2 separate regions of the Homo sapiens genome follow, and region 1 is linked to region 2. The links are contacts of gene promoters, found by promoter capture Hi-C in blood cells and fetal thymus (Javierre and others, 2016). All regions are on one chromosome and are shown on one strand. Each heading gives the region's core, a stretch centred on a gene start or on the middle of the fragment in contact. The rest is flanking DNA. Distances are from core to core; before and after follow the strand shown. Region 1 overlaps NOS1AP (nitric oxide synthase 1 adaptor protein). Region 2 holds the start of UAP1 (UDP-N-acetylglucosamine pyrophosphorylase 1).

Region 1 (5,719 bases), core at 3,096-5,595, 230 kb before region 2:
TCACTTCAACGATTAAAAAAGAAGAAGGTTGAGAGAAGGAAAATAATTTGCTCAAGGCCCCTTGGTAGTCTACATCCTCTACCCTAAAGTTCTGTTTTGGGCTATGGCAGGAGAGAATTGCGTGGCAGGTCCTGGGCTTGCTGGGAGAGACCCAGTGGATCTTGAGCAGGAGGCGAGGAACATGGATGTAGACTCAGGAAACCTTGCAGGTGACTGGAGACCTTTCACAGCCTCTGCAGTCCTAAAGTCAGCAGGCAGTCCCCATGGAGATGAGGGGCATTAGAGGTAGAATGCTAATACCTGGGGGAATATGGCTGTGTTAGGATTCTCCAGTGAAACAGAACCAATAGGATATATGTGTGGGTGTGCATGCTTACACATATTACATGTGTTTATGTATAGGTACACATACTTAATATATACAGGCACATATAAGAAATAGTTAAGGAATTGGCTCACATGATTATGGAGGCTGAGAAGTTCCAAGATCTGCAATTGGGAAGGTGGAGACCCAGGAATGCTAATATATGGTTCCAGTCTGAGTCTGAAGACCTGAGAACCAGGAAAGCTGATGGTGTGAGTTTCAGTCTGCACATTGGCAGGCTTGAGACCCAAGAAGAGTCTGACCTGGCTGGAAAAGACCAATGTCCCAGCTCAAAGCAATCAGGCAGGAGGCATTCCCTCTTACTCAACCTGTTTGTTCTATTCAGGTGTTCAGTTGGATTATTGGATGAGGCCAGGGATGATGACAGAGTAAGATGAGGTCTCATGGCCAGAGACTGAAAGAGGGAATAAAGGATGAGAACTTGAAGACAACATAATTGATTCTAGTCAGGCCCCAAAAATGTGAGATCATGAAGAAAAATCATGTGACTGCCCAGATTTTCATAAAATGCTTCTTGAAAAGTATACAATATGGAAAGCAGAGCTTAAAAACAAGTATGAGTGCAAAGGAACAACAATTACTGAGAGAACTGAAACCCTGAATGCATTAGGCTTATGGAAAAGGCTGAAGATGAGAGAAAAAGGGGTGTGAAGGAAGAGAGAGTTGGCACATGGCAAGGGGAAAATCTCAATCCCATTTTTCTAACTGTCTTGGTTTTTTTCTTCTCAAGTAGAGAACTGATCTTCAAATTAGAAACACTAGAACATATGTAATTTTAAAAAACCGAAGTTCAAAACCAAGAGGAAAAAGGAAGGTATTCCTCACTACCATGTGTCCAGGCCTGAATCACTGGCTTCTGGGTTCCTGAAAAATATGATTGCAAAATAGTGATTGGTCATCTTTTGCAAAATCATGAGGGATGGAGAAGAAACAAAAAGATTGCAAAAATAAAATATTGCAGTTTTTAGAAAGGGGGCAAACCTGCATCAGGAATTACCAACTAGTGAATTTGTCATTGCTCCTGGGCAGAATTCTAGAAGAGATCATTAAGCAGATGGTCTGTGAGAACTTGGAAAAGGAAATCATGAACACTGAGAGCTAGTCCTAAAAAACCAGTTACCCAAGTATGTTCAGGAAATCTGCCTTACAGCTGTTGCGCAAATTAGCTTTGAGCATTTGAGTAGACTACAGTGTGAACCAGCAATGAGATGTTATAACAGAAGAAAAAAAACATGATCAGAGATGCTTTGCTAAAAATTCAGTTCTAGGGCATAGAAAATATTTATCCAAATATACTCTGTGCTGTTCAGATCCCTCACAAATGAGTTCAGTTCTGTGAGCTGCATTTTAAGATAGTCACTGGCAAGTTGGAATATGTACGGAAAAAGTTAAGAGAAGATGGAACTCATATTTATTGAGCAAGCAACTTAACATGTGTTGGGCATTGTGTAAAATGTGGTATGTGTGTTTTAATGCTTAAAACAATACCATGAAGAAGTCATTAATATGCCTATTTTAGATGAGGAAATGAAGGATTATGTAACTGAGTTTTTTGCCTCAGGCCAGCAGCTAGAAGATGGCAAAGCTAAGACTTGAACCTGGATCTTTCTCATCCCCAAGCCCATGCTCTTTCCACAGTGCAAACCTGCCAGAGAAATAAGGGACTTGGAAAATGAGCCAACTGAGAAACTGTTGAAGGAAGAAGTAATTCACTTTAAAAATGAAAGGAGTGCAGAGGAGTCGGAGAGTGGGGAGGGCATCAGGAAGAATAGCTAATGCATGCTGGGATTAATACCTAGGTGATGGGTTGATAGGTTCAGCAAATCACCATGGCACACATTTACCTATGTAACAAACCCGTCCATCCTGCACATGTACCCCGGAACTTAAAATAAACTTAAGAAAGGAGTAAATATAAACATGATATTGTTTCCATATATTAAAATGTTGGCCATTTGGAAGAGGAGTAGCCTTGTTCTCTGAGATCCCTAAGGATGGAACTAGAGCAGTAGTGTGGCAGTAATTAGAGCAGTTCACATTTATTAACCATTTGCTGTAAGCTGACCCCTCTGCACATACTCATTCTTTAAACCTTACTAGCATGAGTGAGGTACAGCACAATGATCATACCTGTTTCACAGGTGAAGAACAAGAAGGGGGTTGAGATAATGACCAGGGTGTCCCAGCTAGTAAGTGGCAAAGCTTGGGCTGAAATCCAGGTCTGTCCCCCTCAGGGCCAGTGTTCTCAGCCATTTTCCTCCACTGCATTCCTGTTGGCAGAATTCCAGTCAACATGAGGGAAAATTTCCTGGTAACTAGAACCTCTTAAAAAGGGATCAGATACTTTGTTAGAGAGTGAATTGCCTATCAGTGATGAATCCTGACAGACAGAGATGCTGGCTTGTATCCAGGCCTTATGACCCCATAGGTTTCTTTCTACTCTAAATTGTTGTTGCTGCTGTTGTTGTTGTTTTTCTATGATCTTAAGAGAAGCGAGTTTACCTATAGATGAATAGTTTGAGAAGGGGGGTATTGGTGGTGAATCTAGTTGTTTTTAAAATCACGTTGTCAACCTAAATTCCAGCATGATGATAAACCCAAAATCCAGTTTCTTCCAGATAATGTTTTTCTTTCAGTCATTTATGGTAAGTCTGTGGACATATGATGAATCTGCAGAAAGGTTTATTACTGTGTAAAAGCATAACAGTTCTGTTAGTAAGTAAAAATTATAATGCTATACATATTTTGAAATAAAAGTAAGAAATTTTAGGGCCAGCTGTGGTGGCTTACACCTATAATCCCAGCTACTCAGGAGGCTGAAGCACAAGTATCACTTGAACCTGGGAGGCAGAGGTTGCAGTGAGCCAAGATTTCACCAAGAAAAAAAGAGAGAGAGAGAGAGAGAGAGAAAAGAAATTTAAAGGAGAAGAAATTTTAGGAAAGTTGAAGGGGGAATAAAACCTTATTAACATTATATGAACTACTTTGGTATCCTACTCTTTATAATTATAGTGAAAGTTGGGAAAATTGACTAAGGTACTTTTTGGAAGCAGGATTATCAGAACTAGGCTAGACTGACTTAAGGGTAAAGATGAAGAAGGAAAGAAAAAGGGAAATCTTTCCTATTCTCTTGAGCACTCACCTTCCTCTACTCTCCCCCAATTTCTACCACCCCCACAATCACAGTGCTTAAGAAAACCAAGTAATGGAGAAATAAGGGTTCTTGGAATGTATTTCTTGATCTGGAAATTTGGACCCAAGAGACATTAATTTGCGGATTTATTAGTTTGTTGATGAATGAGGTCGCATGGAAAAACTTTCTGCCTCTTGGTTATGTTGGTGGAAACTTTTCTAAGCTTTAACTAGCTGACTTTTTGGTTAGCTAGAGATTATTTACTTTTAATAACAACACGCTAAGTTTCTGAAATCAGATATAGCAGAGCAGTCTCCAGAGAGCTGTGGTCCAAAGGCAGTGGCTGCATCCATGTACAGTTCTCATCAGATTTTCTGAAAAGATGCTTTATCTGTTAAGGTTAAGTTAACCTTGGCTTACTGCCGTTCCTCTGTTCCTTCCACATCTCTGTGTCTTGTGGGCATGCCAGTTTGCATTCAAATCTGCTGTATCAGTTTTAAATCCAGTTCTCAGTCCTTAGGGTATTACATAAGAATAAGTTAACTAAAGAATCCAAGAAGTTTTACGTATGATGCTGAACTAACTGGATCTGACTTCCTTGGGGAAAATGAATAGCCAGGCAGATCACATTATAGATGAGCATTAATGACAGCTGGAACACCTCCCTCCCTTCTAAGCAGGCAAGGAACCTCCCATGTGCCAATCACTGTGCTGGCACTGGGGATACCAAGATGTGTTCCTTGTTCCTTCAAGGAGCACATGTAAAAACATCATAGTGTGAGATATGTGCTGTGGCAACGTTGAGCCCCAGGGTATTCAGCAACTCAGACTGCTGAAGAAAAGGGAGGGGAAGGCTGCTCTGAACCAAGTCTTGGCGGCCATCAAAGGTGTTCACAGCAGTTGCAGAATTGGGAAGATGCACACACCTAGTTCTGCAGGCCTGTGTAGGTCAGGACTCTGGAGAGAGATGACTGCAGAAAGGTAGGTACACCATGCTAAGGAGTTTGGACTTTATCCTAAAAGCAGTAGGAAGCCTTTGGATGGCTTTAAGAGGAAAATGATGGGATGTAATTTGTCTTTTTTAAAAATAACACTTTGCTGGCAATGTAGAGAATGGGTTGACAATAGGTGAGTTAGGAAGCAGAGCAGCACACTGTTTACAGGATGTTGTAAAAATCCAGGTGAAAAATGAGAACTCTAGATGATCAATAGCTTGGAGTTGAAGAGAAAAACATAAATCAGAGACATATTAGGGAGCGAGTCTGCAAGGAACTTGCTCCTGAGTGATGGCTATTGGGGAACAATGGAGGAAGCTGTTGAGAATGACACCTGGGTTTCTGGCTTGAGTAGGTATGGTGTCCCCTTATCAAGATAGGACATGGAGAATTATGGGGAATATGATGAATTCACTCGGGGGTATGAGGAATTTGAGAAGCTTGAGAACCATTCAGGAGGAGATGTCCAGGAAGGTTGGCTGAATGGGCCTGGAACTCAGGCAGGAGATGCTGAGATACAATTGTAGATTTGTCCCTTTGATGTTAGGAAGACAGTTTGACATCATTAGAAGGATAGGGGACTGGAAACCACACTAAACAGCCTCTATTTCAGAACCATTTAGAGATGATAGACATGTGAGATGTACTGAAATGCCTGCTAGCTGAGTGTAGCAGAGAAACTACAGTCCCCAAGGTGAACTTGGGTTTTTTCACAGTGTTGTTTTCCTCTCTGTGCCCACCTTTCTTTTGGACTTTCCTCCCAGGCTTCTTGGGGTCCTGTGGCAAGAATCTCAGTTACTAGGCTGTTTAGAGGCTATATCAGTAAGGGGATGTAAGATGGCATTTTACTAACTATTCTACCTCCTCAATAACTCTTGGAAGGGTTACTATTAGTAGTCCCATTGTACAGATAACAAAACTGAGCCTCTGAGGGGTGACATAACTTATTTTTTAGTAAGTGGCAAAGTCGTAGATGAAGTTGTAGACTCTCAATCCCATTCTCTTTCTTCTATACAGCACAGACCTACACTAAAACAAATCAGACCTGTTAACTCCTTGAATGAAAGCCATCAGTGTTGTTAGTGGTGAAAAATGTTTTGCAGAAATGATGTGGCCTCTTAGGTGCTACCAAGAGCAATACACTCCTTGGACTGCCCAAAACTAATTCCACTGATGCACCCGCTCCAACTCCCTGCACCGACCCCA
Region 2 (5,045 bases), core at 2,540-5,039:
GTTCTAAATACCCTTTAAATTAACTGTGTTTTCCTCCATTTACTTTACTATTATTTACTTTGCCTCCCAAATTTCTTTCTTGCCTACCCCCATGTATTTATGCACATATATTTCTTTCTGAGCCTTTTATTTATTTATTTTTTGAGACAGGGTCTCACTCTGTCACCCATACTGCAGTGTAGTGGCATGATCACAGCTCACTGCAGCCTCAACCTCCTGGACTAAAGCGATCCTCCTGTTTCAGCCTTGGGAGTAGCTGGGTCCACAGGCACATACTACCATGCCCGGTTAATTTTTATGTTTTTTAATAAAGATGGGGTTTTGCCATGTTGCCCAGGCTAGTCTCAAATTCCTAGGCTCAAGTGATCCTCTCGCCTTGGCCTCCCAAAGTGTTGGGCTTACAGGCGTAAGCCATTGCTCCTCATCTTTCTGAGCCATTTAAGAATTACAGACATCATATTCTTTTACCCCTAAATATTTTAGTATGTCTTTCCTAGGAACATAAACATTCTTTTACATAACCACAGCACAATGACCAAAATCAATTTATTTAGTCATTTGTTCATATCCGCAACACACATGAAATAGCTCCAGAATTTTTTCATTTGATCAAATATCTTGTGTGGCTTTTAGGCATCTTTTATAACTCTCCTTACACAGATTTTGCACATTTTGCGCTAAATTTATACTTAATTTTTTTTGTTGCTGTTATAAATGGGATTTTCTCCACCATCGTGTCTTCTAAATGTTATAATGTGTGTATATGAGAGCTATTGATTTCTATATGTTCATTTTATAACTTGCTACCTTACTGATATGGTTTGTCTCTGTGTCCCCACCCAAATCTCACCTTGAATTGTAATAATCTTCATGTGTCAAGGGCCAGACCAGGTGGAGATAATTGAATCACTGGCGTGGTTTCTGCCATAGTGTTCTCGTGATAGTGAGTTCTCATTAGATCTGTTTTTTTTTTTTTTTTTTTGAGACAGTCTCGCTCTGTCATCCAGGCTGGAGTGCAGTGGTGAAATCTAGGCTCACTGCAACCTCCGCCTCCCAGGTTTAAGCGATTCTCCTGCCTCAACCTCCTAAGTAGCTGGGACTACAGGTGCGTGCCACCACACCCAGCTAATTTTTGTATTTTTAATAGAGACAGGGTTTCACTATGTTGGCCAGGCTGATCTCAAACTCTTGACCTCGTGATTTGCCCGCCTCAGCCTCCAAAGTGCTGGGATTACAGGCGTGAGCCACCGCGCCTGGCAGATATGATGGTTTTGTAAGGGGCTTCCCCCTTTGCTCAGCACTCATTCTCTCTCCTGCTGCCCTGTGAAGAGGTGCCTTCCACCAGGATAGTAAGTTGCCTGAGGCCTCTGCAGCCATGCAGAACTGTGAGTCAATTAAACCTCTTTTCTTTATAAATTACCCAGTCTTGGGTATCTCTTGATAGCAGTGTGAAAACGGACTAATACACTAACCAAAATTTTTCTGTGGTTTGTTAGTCTTATTGTTGACTCTCAAGGGCTTTCCAGGTATTCTCTCTTGTCATTTGCAAGTCGAAGTAGTTTTATGACTTTTTAAAATTCTTAAAAAATAATTTTTTAATTCTTATATATTTTTTCTAATTTATAAGCCTCTTAGGATTTCTGTTGTCTAACTTCATTAGCTGATACCTTTGGTGTAATGTCAAAAAATCATAGGTAGTGTGAACATCGTTGCCTTGTTTTCTTCAATCAGCTCTTAAAAGACCATGTATATAAAAAGTATTTCGAAGGACAGAAATAACTCTAGTGTTAGACATTTCTGGACATTTAGCTGGCAAGATGAGATTATGGCCCCTCTTATGCCTAGTAACCAGAATAACAAACAAATGAAACTTCAGCAAAAAAGGGTAAAAGTACAAATGTGATTTTATAGTAGTTCATTAAAAACATTGAGCTGGACCTCAGTTCTATCTTTTTTCTTTAAAGGATTGCTAACTAATAATTTTGCTCTTTACTCAGTCATTCATCTATGACTTATAGAATGCCTATAATATTCCAGACATTATCTTAGGTTCTTTCTCATTTTTTACTATACCCATGTGAAATAGGTATTAGCTTCATTTCATAAAAGGACATTGGAGTTTGGAGTGGTTAAATGACTTACCCAAAGTCACACAGTTAGTAAGCGTAGACTGATTTTGAATCTGGGTCTCCTAGTTTGAATTAATAAGTGCTCAATAATAAATAATAACTAAAGGTTATTTAGTGTTTACTGTTTTACATACTTCATTTATATCGATTGGTTTAATACAACCACCAAATGGCATTTTCATCTTTATTGTCTGTTTTTTATAGATGAGAAAACTGATAGCACAAGTAGCTTGCCAAAGATCACAAGCAATAAAGCTGAAATTGTCTTCAGATCCCATGATTAAGAAACCAATCACTACACTATAAACCAATCACTACACTATTCTTCTTTCAAAGAAACGAAGGAAGTTCTAGGATCATGAGAGATGGAGAGTATTCAATCTCCTGAATGTAAATCTACCAGCATTACTTACCAAGTTTAAGTTTTTCTGTTGTTACTTGAGGCAGTGGGTGATTATGCAATTGGTAAAGGGAATGAAAAGGCCTTTGCACCCAAGAAAGTAGAAGAAAGGCGCCTGAATCTCTTTATGATAGGTGGTATGTTAAATCTAGGTATTTTCGTATTTCAACATATTCCACTTCTTGCAAAAGCTGCAAAATGCAACACAACTTTAAATGTAAACATAGCTTCCAAGGGCACAGTGCTGAACATATAATAACCTGTGTGTGCACACCCACACTAGGTTATGTAACAGGACTGTAAACACTGGTCCTGGAATGGCCTGGGAGGTCATCTAGGTCCTCCACCATCTTTCTGCAGAGTACTGAGGCCTAGCGACGTTAAGTCTGCAAACTCACAAAGATGACCCCGGGCTTATACTACCTTAGGTTACCTACTACCTTTGCTTGCATTTCCTCTCTCCTTTCCTGTCTGTTTGTGCAAAAGAAAAAAGGCCTGGCTTCGCCTTCTTGGGAGCCAAAACACAACCAAACAGAGAGCGAGTTTGGAGCCCGGCCAGGCATCTTGTGAACTGCACACAAAATAACTAGCCCAAGGTCAGAGAGCGCGCCAGGCCCGCCCTGAAAGTTTCTCCGCAGGAAAATCCACCGCCCTTTCCCAACCACCCGCGTGGGTGGCTCGGAAATCCGCCACCCTGGGGACACAGCTCCCTGCCCATCTCTGTGGCCCGCTTGTGCCCCGTGCCGCTGGGCCGACTAAGAGCCTCGGGCTCGCACCTCCCAGTACAACCTAGGGACGTCAGGGGTCCTGGGACCCACGAGCCGCTCTCTGCCGGCCGGCTCCTGGCCCCTCCTAGCAGACCCAACCGACATCCTTCACCCTCAGTTAGTGCGCAGGAGGGACCGGGACGCCAGCCGACTGCGCTCCAGAACTATTCCCATTGGGCCAGAGAATGAGTGACGCACTAGGCCCCGCCCCGGCCCGGTGGGTTACTCCTTTCATGCCCGGCCCCCATCCCTAGCCCCGCCCCGGCGCCCCGGGCCGCGGCCGCCTCCGCGTCCGCGTCGTCGTCTGTGCTCCCGGCGCTGACGTGTCTGGGCGGTCGGCTTCCACTCCTTCAGGCGTCGGCAGCCACTAGTCGTGGCGAGAGGGGCGGGGTGGCCGGGGCTGGCGCTCCACTTGGCCCCCGCTCCCGGCCCGCCCCGCCGCCGCGGCCCCCCGGATGAGGGTATATATTCGGAGCGAGCGCGGGACGCCGATGAGTGGCCGCGCGGAAGGAGCTGGAGACGGTCGTAGCTGCGGTCGCGCCGAGAAAGGTGAGGGGCTCCCAGCCCAGCGAGGAGACGGCGGGGCTCGGGACCCGGGCGGGCGGAGGGCCTGGCCCCACCGCACACACGGCCACGCGCTCAGACGTGGACACGCGTCGCACGAACGTGCACAGCGCGGGCAGCCGAGCACACGCCGAGGAGCCTCCCGCTCGCCCGCAGACACACACCCCAGCCCGTGCGCCCCGCAGTCGCACCCCATCCTCCGCCACCCCGCGAGAGGGTGTGTGGGCTGGGCAGCCGGGTGGATGGCGGGGCCAGGGATGGAATGAGCGCGCCCCAGATGGACTGGGGGCGTTGTGGGAGGAGGTCTGGGCCAGTGTCTGAGTCCGAGGGGGTCGTGTAGGCGTGTGGGGTTGGGAGTGGGGCCTCTCCCGGGTGGGCAGTAGAGACCTCGAGGCTCTCAGGCTAGGGCCTTGTGGACAGTTATACCAAGTGTGGGGGCCTGTAGTGGGACAGGAGATCGTTGGCACTGTCAGGTGGAAGCGAGTTGGTGTGTCTTGAATATATGAGGAAAAGATTTGAGAGGTCTGACAAAGACAGGGGATACATTTGGAGGACAGGACAGTGGGACAAAACCTGTTTGCTTGCCACTTTTTTCTTTCTTTTTTTTGGTTTGGTTTGCCATGATACTGGTAGTGAGAGAGAATTGAAATTTCTGGGTTTCCCCTCTCTTGGCCAAGCAGAAGGATGGTATTGGAGGGCTGAGCACACGTATGCTGAACATATGGCTGCTTGAACTTTGGCCTGTCGCTGTGCTACACTTACTTCTACATGGTTTATGAAATCTGAAATCAGGTAATAGGATTATGATCATATGTGTGTGTCATTTGGTATTGCAAAAGTTTAAGGACTTTTAGGTGAAATTCACTGGGTGTGGATCCAAGAGTTCGCCGGAAACTCAAGGCAGTTGTCTATTCCTTCACGGTTAGTCAGTTGGCTCACTTAGCTGGAGCAAAGAAAGACTTCATAGGCTGTGCTGCCAAGCATTTATAGGATTCAGTTGGTGGTTATGTCTCAACTCTGATACTGTTTTTCAAAAGCTTTAAGAGGTTTACTTATTCATTTCGAGGGCATACGTATACCAGCAGAGATAGGGGCTGGGTGGGGGAAGCCAGAAAAGGAGGGAGAAATACTGGATTTCTTTAATACTGGTATTTAAATTCTAATAAAAATATATTTGATAATGGT

The links. Contacts are between HindIII fragments. The CHiCAGO score rates a contact against its expected background, and 5 or more counts as called.
Region 1: a contact is called between a fragment that was not itself captured here and the fragment with the promoter of UAP1 in region 2, in 1 of 17 cell types (monocytes). The highest score is 5.1, in monocytes.

Annotation. Positions count from the first base shown.
Region 1 is chr1:162,326,091-162,331,809 of GRCh38, forward strand. All of the region lies in intron 4 of NOS1AP (nitric oxide synthase 1 adaptor protein), which reads left to right. Among named protein-coding and RNA genes, the nearest start is that of MIR556, 14 kb to the right of the region's middle. The HindIII fragment of the contact is 1,212 bases long and covers 3,740-4,951 here.
Region 2 is chr1:162,557,933-162,562,977 of GRCh38, forward strand. UAP1 (UDP-N-acetylglucosamine pyrophosphorylase 1) reads left to right here and starts at 3,790. Exons shown (of 11, transcript NM_001324116.5): 1 at 3,790-3,845. UAP1-DT (UAP1 divergent transcript) reads right to left here and starts at 3,421. Exons shown (of 3, transcript XR_426859.4): 1 at 3,306-3,421; 2 at 2,543-2,720. RefSeq lists a silencer at 3,379-4,278. The HindIII fragment of the contact is 14,107 bases long and covers 1-4,895 here.